4 separate regions of the Homo sapiens genome follow, and all the other regions are linked to region 4. The links are contacts of gene promoters, found by promoter capture Hi-C in blood cells and fetal thymus (Javierre and others, 2016). All regions are on one chromosome and are shown on one strand. The core of a region is centred on a gene start or on the middle of the fragment in contact, and the rest is flanking DNA. Distances in the headings are between cores, read along the strand shown. Region 1 overlaps LOC149684 (a long non-coding RNA gene). Region 2 overlaps RPRD1B (regulation of nuclear pre-mRNA domain containing 1B). Region 3 overlaps RPRD1B (regulation of nuclear pre-mRNA domain containing 1B). Region 4 holds the start of TGM2 (transglutaminase 2).

The links. Contacts are between HindIII fragments. The CHiCAGO score rates a contact against its expected background, and 5 or more counts as called.
Region 1: a fragment that was not itself captured here is called in contact with the fragment with the promoter of TGM2 in region 4 in 1 of 17 cell types (monocytes); the score reaches 6.3 in monocytes.
Region 2: a fragment that was not itself captured here is called in contact with the fragment with the promoter of TGM2 in region 4 in 7 of 17 cell types (monocytes, M0 macrophages, M1 macrophages and 4 more); the score reaches 12.3 in monocytes.
Region 3: a fragment that was not itself captured here is called in contact with the fragment with the promoter of TGM2 in region 4 in 6 of 17 cell types (M1 macrophages, neutrophils, M0 macrophages and 3 more); the score reaches 8.8 in M1 macrophages.

Annotation. Positions count from the first base shown.
Region 1 is chr20:38,285,261-38,287,960 of GRCh38, forward strand. The region is part of intron 1 of LOC149684 (a long non-coding RNA gene); the gene reads left to right. Among named protein-coding and RNA genes, the nearest start is that of BPI, 18 kb to the right of the region's middle. RefSeq lists an enhancer at 1,359-1,860. The HindIII fragment of the contact is 980 bases long and covers 851-1,830 here.
Region 2 is chr20:38,078,847-38,081,546 of GRCh38, forward strand. The region is part of intron 6 of RPRD1B (regulation of nuclear pre-mRNA domain containing 1B); the gene reads left to right. Among named protein-coding and RNA genes, the nearest start is that of RPRD1B, 46 kb to the left of the region's middle. The HindIII fragment of the contact is 2,285 bases long and covers 284-2,568 here.
Region 3 is chr20:38,037,868-38,040,567 of GRCh38, forward strand. It overlaps RPRD1B (regulation of nuclear pre-mRNA domain containing 1B), which reads left to right. Exons shown (of 7, transcript NM_021215.4): 2 at 2,568-2,697. It overlaps LOC124904898 (a long non-coding RNA gene), which reads left to right. Exons shown (of 2, transcript XR_007067579.1): 2 at 1-240. Among named protein-coding and RNA genes, the nearest start is that of RPRD1B, 5.5 kb to the left of the region's middle. The HindIII fragment of the contact is 2,555 bases long and covers 28-2,582 here.
Region 4 is chr20:38,163,820-38,166,519 of GRCh38, forward strand. It overlaps TGM2 (transglutaminase 2), which reads right to left and starts at 1,451. Exons shown (of 13, transcript NM_004613.4): 1 at 1,370-1,451. The coding sequence starts at 1,379. RefSeq lists a silencer at 1,304-1,743. The HindIII fragment of the contact is 3,789 bases long and covers 1-2,700 here.

The DNA.
Region 1 (2,700 bases), core at 91-2,590, 120 kb after region 4:
TGTCTCATGACCTAACCTCAGAAGTCACACACTATTTCCACAATGTCCTAGCACGGTCAGCCCTATCCAGTGTGGGAGGGGATATTCATGAAGGCAGGGATTCCTGGGGACCATCTGAGGCTGGCATCCCCAAGACAAAGAAAGTGTAAACATGAAGTTCTCAGCAGTATGTTTCATTCACAAAGATTTGTGGAAGCTTTTTAAAGGCCCCCCAACTACATAACACACGATAGCTGATATGGTTTGGATCTCTGTTCCCACCAAATCTCATGTAGAATTGTAATCCCCAGGGTTGGAGGTGGGGCCTGGTGGGAGGTGATCGGATCATGGGGGCAGAGTTTCCATGAATGATTATCACCATCCCCCCTTGGTACTGTATAATGAGTGAGTTCTCACAAGATCTGGTTAAGTGTGTGGCACCTCCCTGCTCTTTCTCTTCCTCCTGCTCCAGCCATGTGAAGTGCTGGCTTCCCCTTCGCCTTCCACCATGATTGTAAGTTTCCTGAGGCCTCCCCAGGAGCCAAGCAGATGCCAGCATCCTGCTTCCTGTCCACCCTGTGGAATCGTGAGCCAAATATCTCTTCTTTATAAATTATGCAGTCTCAAGTATTCCTTTATAGCAGTGCAAGAATGGACTAATACAAAATCTTGTGCTTATACTGTCCTAGAACATCTCTGGAAGGATGTACTGTTCACTAACTTTTTGAATCTCACATTTTTCTATTCCTCTAATAAATATATGTTTTAAAAATAATTATCGGATAATCAAAAGGAGTGTCCACTGAGTTTGGAAATACGTTTTTTCATATATCCAACCCACAGATATTTGCGAAGCTGCTACTGTGCATCAAGCTTTGTTCTTGGCACTGGAAATGGTGAAGGGAACAGAGCTTCGCCACCCTCATGGGCTGGGTTCTTTTCCTAGGGCTGCCATAACAAAATGCTACAGATGGAGTCACATAAGCAAGAGAAATGTATTGTCTCACCATTCTGGGGGCTAGAAGTTTGAAATCAAGGTGTCAACGGGGTCGGTTATGTTGAGGGCTGTGAGGGGAGGCTCTGTTGCAGGCTGGCTTCTTAACTTGCGGGCGGCCGTCTTCATGTTCACGTGGCATCTTTGCCATATGTACGAGTGCCCACATTTCCCCTTTTTATAAGGACACCAGGCTATTGGATTAGGGCCTACCCTAATGACCTCATTTTAATGTGGGTTCCTTTGTAAAGACTATTTATTCAAATAAGGTCACATTCTGTGATATTGTGGGGGTTGGGAATTCAACATAGGAATTTTCAGAGGAGGGACATAATTTAACTCGTAACATTGGCCTTACGTCGAGTGAGGGAGATGATAAGCAAAGGGGTCTATAGGGCCTCAGGAGCCCAGGGAGCTGGAGAGGGAGAAAGCAGCCCCGGGGGAGGTCCACAATGGGCAAAGGCAGGGTTGGCCTGTGGGTAGAAAGTGGGTGGGAGCAGAAGAAGTGGATGGAGGGTGGAGAGTCACCAGGAGACACGTGCAGCTTTGAGGAGCTTTGGCTGAGCAGGGAGTCCAGAGTGGTGGCTGGAGGGAAACCTGGGATCTAGAGGGAGTCTTATCTGATTTTATGATGAAAAATCTTGTAAGCTGAAAAGACAAAAAAAAATGCAGAAAAGGAGGGCAAGGCCGCAGGTTGAGGGTTGGGCCTCTTCTGGGTGCGGAGAGGAAGAGAGGGAGGGAGGAGAGGCAGGTGTGTGTGCATGGTGTGGGGTAGGAGATCTGCTGAGTAAGGAGGTGCCAGGCTGCAAGGGCCCTGAGGAGGGAGAAAGCTCAGGGTTTGGCTGAGGGACACAGGAAGCTTGCAGGGAGTGGGGGCTCCCAAGCCCTCTCTCAGCCCTCAGACCTCCCTCCCAATCCCCGACCCACCCCGGCAGCTTCTATCCTTCCGTTTCCTTCCCATCTCTCCCAGGGTCCCTCCTACGGCCCGTGGATCTGTCCCTCCCCACAGCTGTCCTGCTGATCAATGGATGCTCTGTTCTCTCTGGCTCCCCTCCACGTGTCCCCGCCTAGCAGGGGCCATGGCCTCACCCCGGGGGTGCACAGGCCTGTGGTCAAAGCAATCTCCATCTGGCCACAGGGAAGTTCCGCCTCCACAACTATGACAATATTTGAAATTCTTCAGAAGTTGCATTTTATGTTATCACACCCATTGGGTCCTGCCCACCTTTTGAAAACCCTCCAGGGACCCCCGACTGCTCAGAGAACAAAACCCAAACACTTTAAAGTGACCTCCAAGGCTCTGCATGCTTCAGCTTCTGCATTGCTTTGTAGCAGCGTTTTATCTTGAAATAATTTTAGCTTTACAGAAGAGTTGCAAAGACAGTATGAAAAATTCCAGTATTCCTTTTCTCCGGTTCCCCTCATGTTAACATCTTACATCACCATAGGACATTTATCAAAACTAAGACATTAACATTGGTACAATGATGTGTTACTTTTGTAGGAAATGATAGTAATTATGGATTTTTTTCATTTTTATTGTGGAACATGCCATAGAGACAAAGGCATATATGTACAGTCTGAAGAATAACAATAAATACCCTTGAACTCACCAATCCATTTAAGAAATAGAATACTGCTGTTACCCCCGACACTCTGCATGCTCCTTCCTGATCAAACCCCCCAGCCTCAATGATTGAAGCAGGGATGTTAATTTATGGGGGTGA
Region 2 (2,700 bases), core at 176-2,675, 85 kb before region 4:
AAAGAGGTGCCCTCGGTCAAAGATCCTTTCCTTTTCTCAAGGCAGCTTCTAGTAAATGTGCTAAATTTTAAGGATATAATCAAATGGTTTCTGGGAGAAAGGATCTTGTATCCCATTAATAATTCTTTTTCTTCAACTCTGCATGTCTTTTCTTGACATATTATAAATCAGGAAGATTAAGTATTGCTCATAAAATAATAGAATATGGGAGGGGTGAGTGTTCTTTCTCCATCAGATCTGTCGATTCAAATGGAACAGTTTAGCAAGTGCCTGTTCTCACCCAAGCTTCCCCCGTGCCATAGGCGTTGTTTTCATTCCCATCTCATACATAGGAGCCCAGTGAGTTTGTCACATGTTATATCCTAGGCACATGGAAGTGTAGGATAGGAACTTGGATTTTCTTTTTTTTTTTTTCTTTCCAACTTTTATTTATTTTATTCAGGGGGTTCAGGTTTGTTAACATGGGTACATTGTGTGTCACAGGTATTTGGCGTACAGATAATTTTGTCATCCAGGTAATTGGCATTGTACCTGATAGGTAGTTTTTCAGTTCTCACCCTCCTCCCATCCTCCACCCTCAAGTAGTCCCGGGTGTCTTATTTTTCCCTTCTTTGAGTTCATGTGTTCTCAATGTTTAGCTCCCAACTTATAAGTGAGAACATGCGGTATTTGGTTTGCCTCATCCATGTTGCTGCAGAGGACGTGATCTCATTCTTTTTTATGGCTGCATAGTATTCCATGGTATATATGTACTCATTTTCTTTATCCAGTCTACTGTGGATGGGCATCTAGGTTGATTCCATGTCTTTGCTATTGTGAATAGTGCTGTGATGAACTTAGGCATGCATGTGTCTTTATGGTAGAATAATTTATATTCCTTTGGTTATATACCCAGTATTGGGATTGCTGGGTTGAATGGTTGTTCTGTTTTAAGTTCTTTGAGAAATCTCCAGACTGCTTTCCACAGTAGCTGAACTAATTTACATTCTCACTAGCCCTTTATAAGTGTTCCTTTTTCCCCACAACCTCCCCAGCATCTGTTATTTCTTGACTCTTTAATAGCCATTCTGATTGGTATGAGATGGTATCTCATTGTGGTTTTGATTTGCATTTCTCTAATGATTAGTGATACTGAGCTTTTTAAATATGCTTGTTGGCTGCATGTATGTCTTCTTTTGAAAAGTGTCAGTTTGTGTCCTTTACCTATTTTTAATGGGGTTTTTTGTTACTTGCTTATTGACTTAAGTTCCTCATAGATTGTAGATATTAGGCCTTTGATGGTGGCATAGTTTGCAAATATTTTCTCCCATTCTGTAAGTTGTCTTTTTGCTCTGTTGATAGTTTCTTTTGCTGTGTAGAAGCTCTTTAGTTTAATTAGATTTTACTTTTCAGTTTGTTTTTGTTGCAGTTACTTTTGGAGTCTTTGCCAGGGCCGGTGTCCGGCATGGTATTTCCTAGGTTTTCTCCTAGGGTCTTTGTAGTTGGAGGTTTTACATTAAGTCTTGATCCACTTTGAGTTGGTTTTTATATATGGTAAAAGGAATGGGTCCAGTTTTAATCTTCTGCATATGGATAGCCAGCTATCCCAGCACCATTTATTGAATAGAGAATACTTTCCCCATTGCTTGTTATCATCAGCTTTGTCAAAGATCAGATTCTTGTAGGTGTACAGCTTTATTTATTTATTTATTTTTTTGAGTCTTGAGTCTCTCTTTGTCTCCCAGGCTGGAGTGCAGTGGCACGATCTCGGCTTGCTGCAACCTCCGCCTCCCAGATTTGAGCAGTTCTCCTGCCTCAGCCTTCCGGGTAGCTGGGATTATAGGCATGCGTCACCACGCCTGGCTTATTTTGTATTTTTAGTAGAGATAGGGTTTCCCCATGTTGGCCAGCCTGGTCTCGAACTCCTTACCTCAGGTGCTCCACCTGCCTCAGCCTCCCAAAGTGCTGGGATTATAGGCATGAGCCACCGTGCCCAGCCAGTGTACAGCTTTATTTCTGAGTTCTCTACCCTGTTCCATTGGTCTTTGTATCTGTTTTTGTACCATTTCCATGCTGTTTTAGTTACTGTAGCCTTATAGTATAGTTTGAAGTTGGGTAATGTGATGCCCTGGGCTTTGTTCTTTTTGCTTAGGATTGCTTTGGCTATTTGGGCTTTTTATTGGCTCAGAATCAATTTTAGAATATTGTTTTCTCTTTGTTTTGTTTTTGTTAGTAGATGCTGTGCATGCAAAAATAGTTTTTCCTAATTCTGTGAAGAATGTCTTTGGTAGTTTGATAGGAATAGCATTGAATCTGTACATTGCTTTGGGTAGTATGGCCATTTCAACAATATTGATTTTTCCTATCCATGAGCATAGAAGTTTTTCCATTTGTTTATGTTGTCTCTGACTTCTTTGAGCAGTGTTTTGTAATTCTTGTTGTCGAGATTTTTCACCTCCCTGATTAGCTGTATTTTATTCTTTTTGTGGCTTTTGTGAATGAAATTGTGTTCTTGATTGGGCTGTCAGCTTGGACATTATTGGTCTATAGAAATGCTACTGATTTTTGTATATTGATTTTGTGTCCTGAAGCTTTGCTGAAGTTATCAGAACTAGGAGCCTTTGGGTAGACATTATGGGGTTTTCTAGCTATGGAATCATATAGCCTGCAACGAGAGATAGTTTGACTTCCTCTCTTCCTATTTGGATGCCTTTTATTTCT
Region 3 (2,700 bases), core at 55-2,554, 130 kb before region 4:
TTCAACATAAAGTGTATGGAATTTTAAAGCTTCACTTAATGAAATTTGCTTTGTTGAAGTTCTGTTTTGCTTTCGAATCTGCTAACTTGCATGGGATTATAGGTGTAGTAGTTTCACTTACATCAACTTTGCAGAGCAAGGTTTGCTTTAACAAAAAAGCACGTTTTGCCATAATCATACCTTTGTAGCAACAGTAGATATTGTAACTACTGACACTTTTGTTCTGCTTTTGAATAATAATTAGAAAGTTGAAGAAAGCTCCAGGTTCCTAGTATTCTTATCAGTTGGCCATCTAAACTAGGTTATTACCAGAAGGTTAAGACAATTCAGGGTATCCATATTTAATTTTATGAGCATTTAAGACATCAGTTTCATCAGTTTAAACTGTAATGTGCTATTAAAATCATGTTTTTAACTTGGGTTACTCTCCTGTAGCTACATTTTTTTTTTTTTTTTTGAGACGGAGTCTCTTACTCTGTCACCCAGGTGGGAGTGCAGTTGGCGCGATCTCGGCTCACTGCAACCTCCGCCTCCCAGGTTCAAGTGATTCGCCTGCCTCAGCCTCCCAAGTAGCTGGGTTTACAGGCGCCTGGCACCACGCCCGGCTGATTTTTTTTGTTTTGTTTTTTTTTTTTTTTTTTTTTTTTGAGACAGAGTCTTGCTCTGTCACCCAGACTGGAGTGCAGTGGTGTGATCTCGGCTCACTGCAAGCTCCGCCTCCTGGGCTCACCCCATTGTCCTGCCTCAGCCTCCTGAGTAGCTGGGACTACAGGCGCCCGCCACCACGCCTGGCTAATTTTTTGTATTTTTAGTAGAGACAAGGTTTCACCATGTTAGCCAGGATGGCCTTGATCTCGTGACCTCAGGTGATCCACCTGCCTTGGCCTCCCGGAGTGCTGGGATTACAGGCGTGAGCCACTGTGCCCAGCCTCCTGTAGCTACATTTTAAAATGTCAGATCTTATGCCTGCTATGTCAGACATATCAATGCTTTGTACATTTCAAAAGAAACAACTGGTTTCAGAGAGAAATAGAGTTACTCAGGTGTGTTAAGGTTGATAAAGAGCTTGTGTTTTTCAGGTACTTTAGCATTGGAGAAAACTTTGTGTTTTGAAACATCTAATTATGTTCTTATTTATTTCTTTTAAAAGAAAATTGGAACCAAAAATTGTAGGGATGTAACTTTATAGTTGAGAAATTATGTGCATAGAAGCCAGGGAATTCAGTAATGTTCCCCAAAGCAACTGTAACTCAGACATATTGCACGAGGTTTTTATGGTTTAATATATGATACCATATAGAGTAATAGGGAATAACCACATTTCATATAAATAAGAGAGAATTATGGTTTTTGTGAAAGCCCTAATTTTGCATATCTAGATTTCACACGTGTGTAAATTTTCAATAAGAGTGTAGTGTTAATGTATACTTGTATTTGAGCTAATATCTATTGGTGCACCTAGAGATTCTTCTATATTATTGATTATGGTTATTGGAGTATCAGAGAAATTCTCAGTTTAGGAGCAAAATTACAAGAAACCTTTTTTTTTTTTTTGAGACGGAGTTTTGCTCTTGTTGCCCAGGCTGGAGTGCAACAGCATGATCTAGGCTCACCACAACCTCTACCTCCCGGATTCAAGCGATTCTCCCACCTCAGCCTCCTGAGTAACTGGGATTACAGGCATGTGCCACCACGCCAGGCAAATTTTGTATTTTTAGTAGAGACGGGGTTTCTCCACGTTGGTCAGGCTGGTCTCAAACTCCCGACCTCAGGTGATCCGTCCATCTCGGCCTCCAAAAGTGCTGGGATGACAGGCATGAGCCACCACGCTCGGCGAAACCATTTTAAAATTGAAACCTAACTCAGTCTTTTTTTTTTTTTTTTGAGACAGAGTCTTGCTCTATTGCCCAAGCTGGAGTACAGTAGTGCAATCTCGGCTCACTGCAACCTCCACCTCCTGGGTTCAAGCGATTCTCCTGCCTCAGCCTCCTGAGTAGCTGGGACTACAGGTGCCCACCATCACACCCGGCTAATTTTTGTATCTTTAGTAGAGGTAGGGTTTCACCATGTTGGCCAGGCTGGTCTCAAACTCCTGACCTCAAATGATCCACCCACCTCGTCCTCCCAGAGTGCTGAGATTACAGGCATGAGCCACTGCGTCCGGCCAACTCAGTCTTTCATTCTGAAATATTTGATAATTAAAAGTGAGTTAGAAGTTGCTCATTTTTGCAGTAGAATAAATAAAAGCCCTAGTTTCAACATTAACACTGACTGCTTATCCTTTAGGAATTCTCTTTGGATTATCTTAATTTTTACTATCAATTAATTACCCTGGTTTAAACAACACAGCAATGAAGATGGCCCATTCTTTTTCTTTTTCTTTTTTTTTTTTCCGAAATGGTATTCCCAAACCTATTCCTTAGGTGGTCTTTTTAAACATATCTACTTGACCCCCCAGGTAGATAATACTTGTCTTAATGTTTTTTTAGGAGCAGCCCAGGGCAAAAGAATTGTGAATTGAGAATTTCTTTGGTGTAAGTTAAATTCTTTTCTTTTCTTTTTTTCAGCCAAATCAAATAGAAAGCTTACTTTTCTGTATTTAGCGAATGATGTCATCCAAAACAGTAAAAGGAAAGGACCTGAATTCACTAGAGAATTTGAATCTGTCCTTGTGGATGCTTTTTCTCATGTTGCCAGGTA
Region 4 (2,700 bases), core at 201-2,700:
GAAAGAGGCCATTGTTGTTCCCATGGAAGACCCTGGAGATACGGCCAGTCCCTGGGCTGTGGGAGCTGGGGCATTTTCTCCATCTGTTGTCCGAAGAAGGGTTTCCAGAAATCACGCCCAGCTCCAAAGATGCAGGTCTAGAATTGTAGGATTTATAGGATTTCTGCACTTAGAAAGGGCCTAGGCCTTCTAGGCCAGTGAGACCTCTGTCAGAAGTGGCCACTGTGACATGGGGCTGGAGGCTCATCATAACTGGCATCTCCAGGATCTCCCAGCCCCACTGAGCCCTGCTTTTGAGCATGGGGGTGAGAAGATGCATTGAGGACAAGCGGCCACCGAGGCGACACATCACAGTGTGTTGGGAGCTGGGCCCGAGGGAGGCAGGTGGCTGAGATCACACAGCAGGGTCAGGTGGGTCCACAGTTCCTGCCACCCATTCCTGCTCCACCTGCCCCATGTCCCTGTCCCACACCCCTTCCTGGGGGTTGCAATGGGTGCAGAAGCCATCCCCAGATGAACTTGACCCAAGAGCCAGCTGGGATTCTGGGTCCAGCAGTGACATCCTCCATTGTAGAAATCCCTCCAGCTGGGACCTACGAGAGTGCTGCTTGTGTGTGGGGAGGGAGTCAGGGGCACCAGTATGAAATTAGTTAAGCCTCTGTTCCACTCCTCTCGTTCCTCACAGATGCACCAAAGGCTGGAGCAGAGGACCAGGGCACGGTCAGGGTGACAGATGGGTGGGGGTCTTGGGGGAAAACAAATCTCATAAACCTTGTCCTATAAAATAAGGACACTGTTGTCCTTATTTTATAGGTGAGACTCAACAATTGGCCAAGGTCTAGGGTTGCAGAACGTGAGGGCGGGAAGAACAAGCCTGATTTCCGAAGGCTCCTGGATAGGATGCCGAAAGCTCCTCTCTGGCCGCTGGAGCCAAGGACTCAGCCAGGCTTGGCTTGCACACCACCGGCGTGGCATGCACACCACCTGGTCCTGGCTGGCAAGAACCACCCAAACCTAAGTGTTCTGAGGCCAGGCCAGCACCCCCTGCACAGCTCCAGGCACACATCAGAGAGCCAGCCCCCACTGACTGACTGAGGACACGTGCCAGTGGTCCGCCAGGACAGTACTTTACAGTTTACAACACCCCGTCGCGTTCCATTGCCTCACCTGATCCAGGGAGGCAAGGGTTAATGGTTATGCAGTGTGGATGGGGAAACTGAGGCTCCAAGCAGCATTGAGACGCCTCCTCACCCAGCCCGGTCTGCCTGTTGCTCTCCAAATCAGGACTTAGGGATTCAGCTCCCACCGGGTCCTGACCCCCAATGCCCCGGGGCCCCTGAGTGGCGGCTGCGGTGACTCTGATACTCACCCTCGGCCATGGTCGGGCGGGGGCGGTGGCTCCTTCCACTGGCGGCGAGACCCTCCAAGTGCGACCACTGGCGGCTGGCACTGCCGAGGCGGAGAGCGGCGCTAACTTATAGCCCGCTTTGGGGCGGGCCGGGGGCGGGGCCCCGCGGGAAGGCGGCGACCTGGGAGGCCACCCATTGCCCAGTCCCGGGCCCACGCCGCCAGCGCTGGGGCTCACCCAGGGGACCGGAGCCCGAGGGAGGGACGGCGGCCGGACGAGGGCGCCCCCTGGGGGAGCGGACAGGGACACACAACTAGCCCAGGATACAGACACACCTGGACCCACAGACTCAGACCTTGGAGAACAGACACCTGGACACACACACTCAGATACAGACACACGCAGCACCCTCATAGAAACACACAACGGAACCGGGGTGCACCTGGACACACAGATGTGGACTCTTAGGTCAGATCTGGGATCAAGAACACCTCCCCACCCCCAACACACACACACACACACACACACACACACGCACACACTCACACACATACTCAGATATACATACACAGAGAGCAGACGCAGACACACCAAGACAGGGCTGTGGAGATACACACACAAACACAGATACACTCCCACAGATACACCAAACACGGCTGGCCACGCAGACACAGTGACATGGATACAAATTCAGATTCGAATGGCAGACACACACCAGGACATAGATACAGCCTGACACAGCCAGGTAGCCTTGACCGCGAGCCACACACAGCTGTGGACACAGATGAGCAGGTGTCCAGAGGCACCTGGCACACACACAGACCTCCTAGACACCAATGCCACTGTCAGATGTGGACGCAAAATCAGAGAGGGCACCCACAGACACACAAAGATGTGGCTACTCAGAGGTAGACACACATGCAGGCATGGACTCAGGTACAGACATGCAGACACACCTGCAAAAACAGACACACCCATGTCCCTTCCTGTAGCAAAACCCAGATAATCCTCCGATCTCACCCATCCTTGTATCTGTCTAATCAGCCATCCATCTAATCAGCCATCCATCTACCCATCCATCCACTCACCCATGCATCACCTACCCCCCCACCTATCCATCCACTCATCCCTTCATCCATCCCTCCCTCGGCCTTCTCTTCCCTCCCTCCCTCAATCCATCCATCCACTGAGCTTTCTTGAGGCCCCACTGTGTGCCAGAAAGGAGCAAGACTAACTTTCCAGGGACTCAGCCTAGGACTTCTCGAACCTGGCAACCAGGGGTCCTATCTCTCATCCTGGTATCTCTGGTCTCTTGGTCTCCTGTGCTTCCGGATCCACTGTGAGCCCTGAGC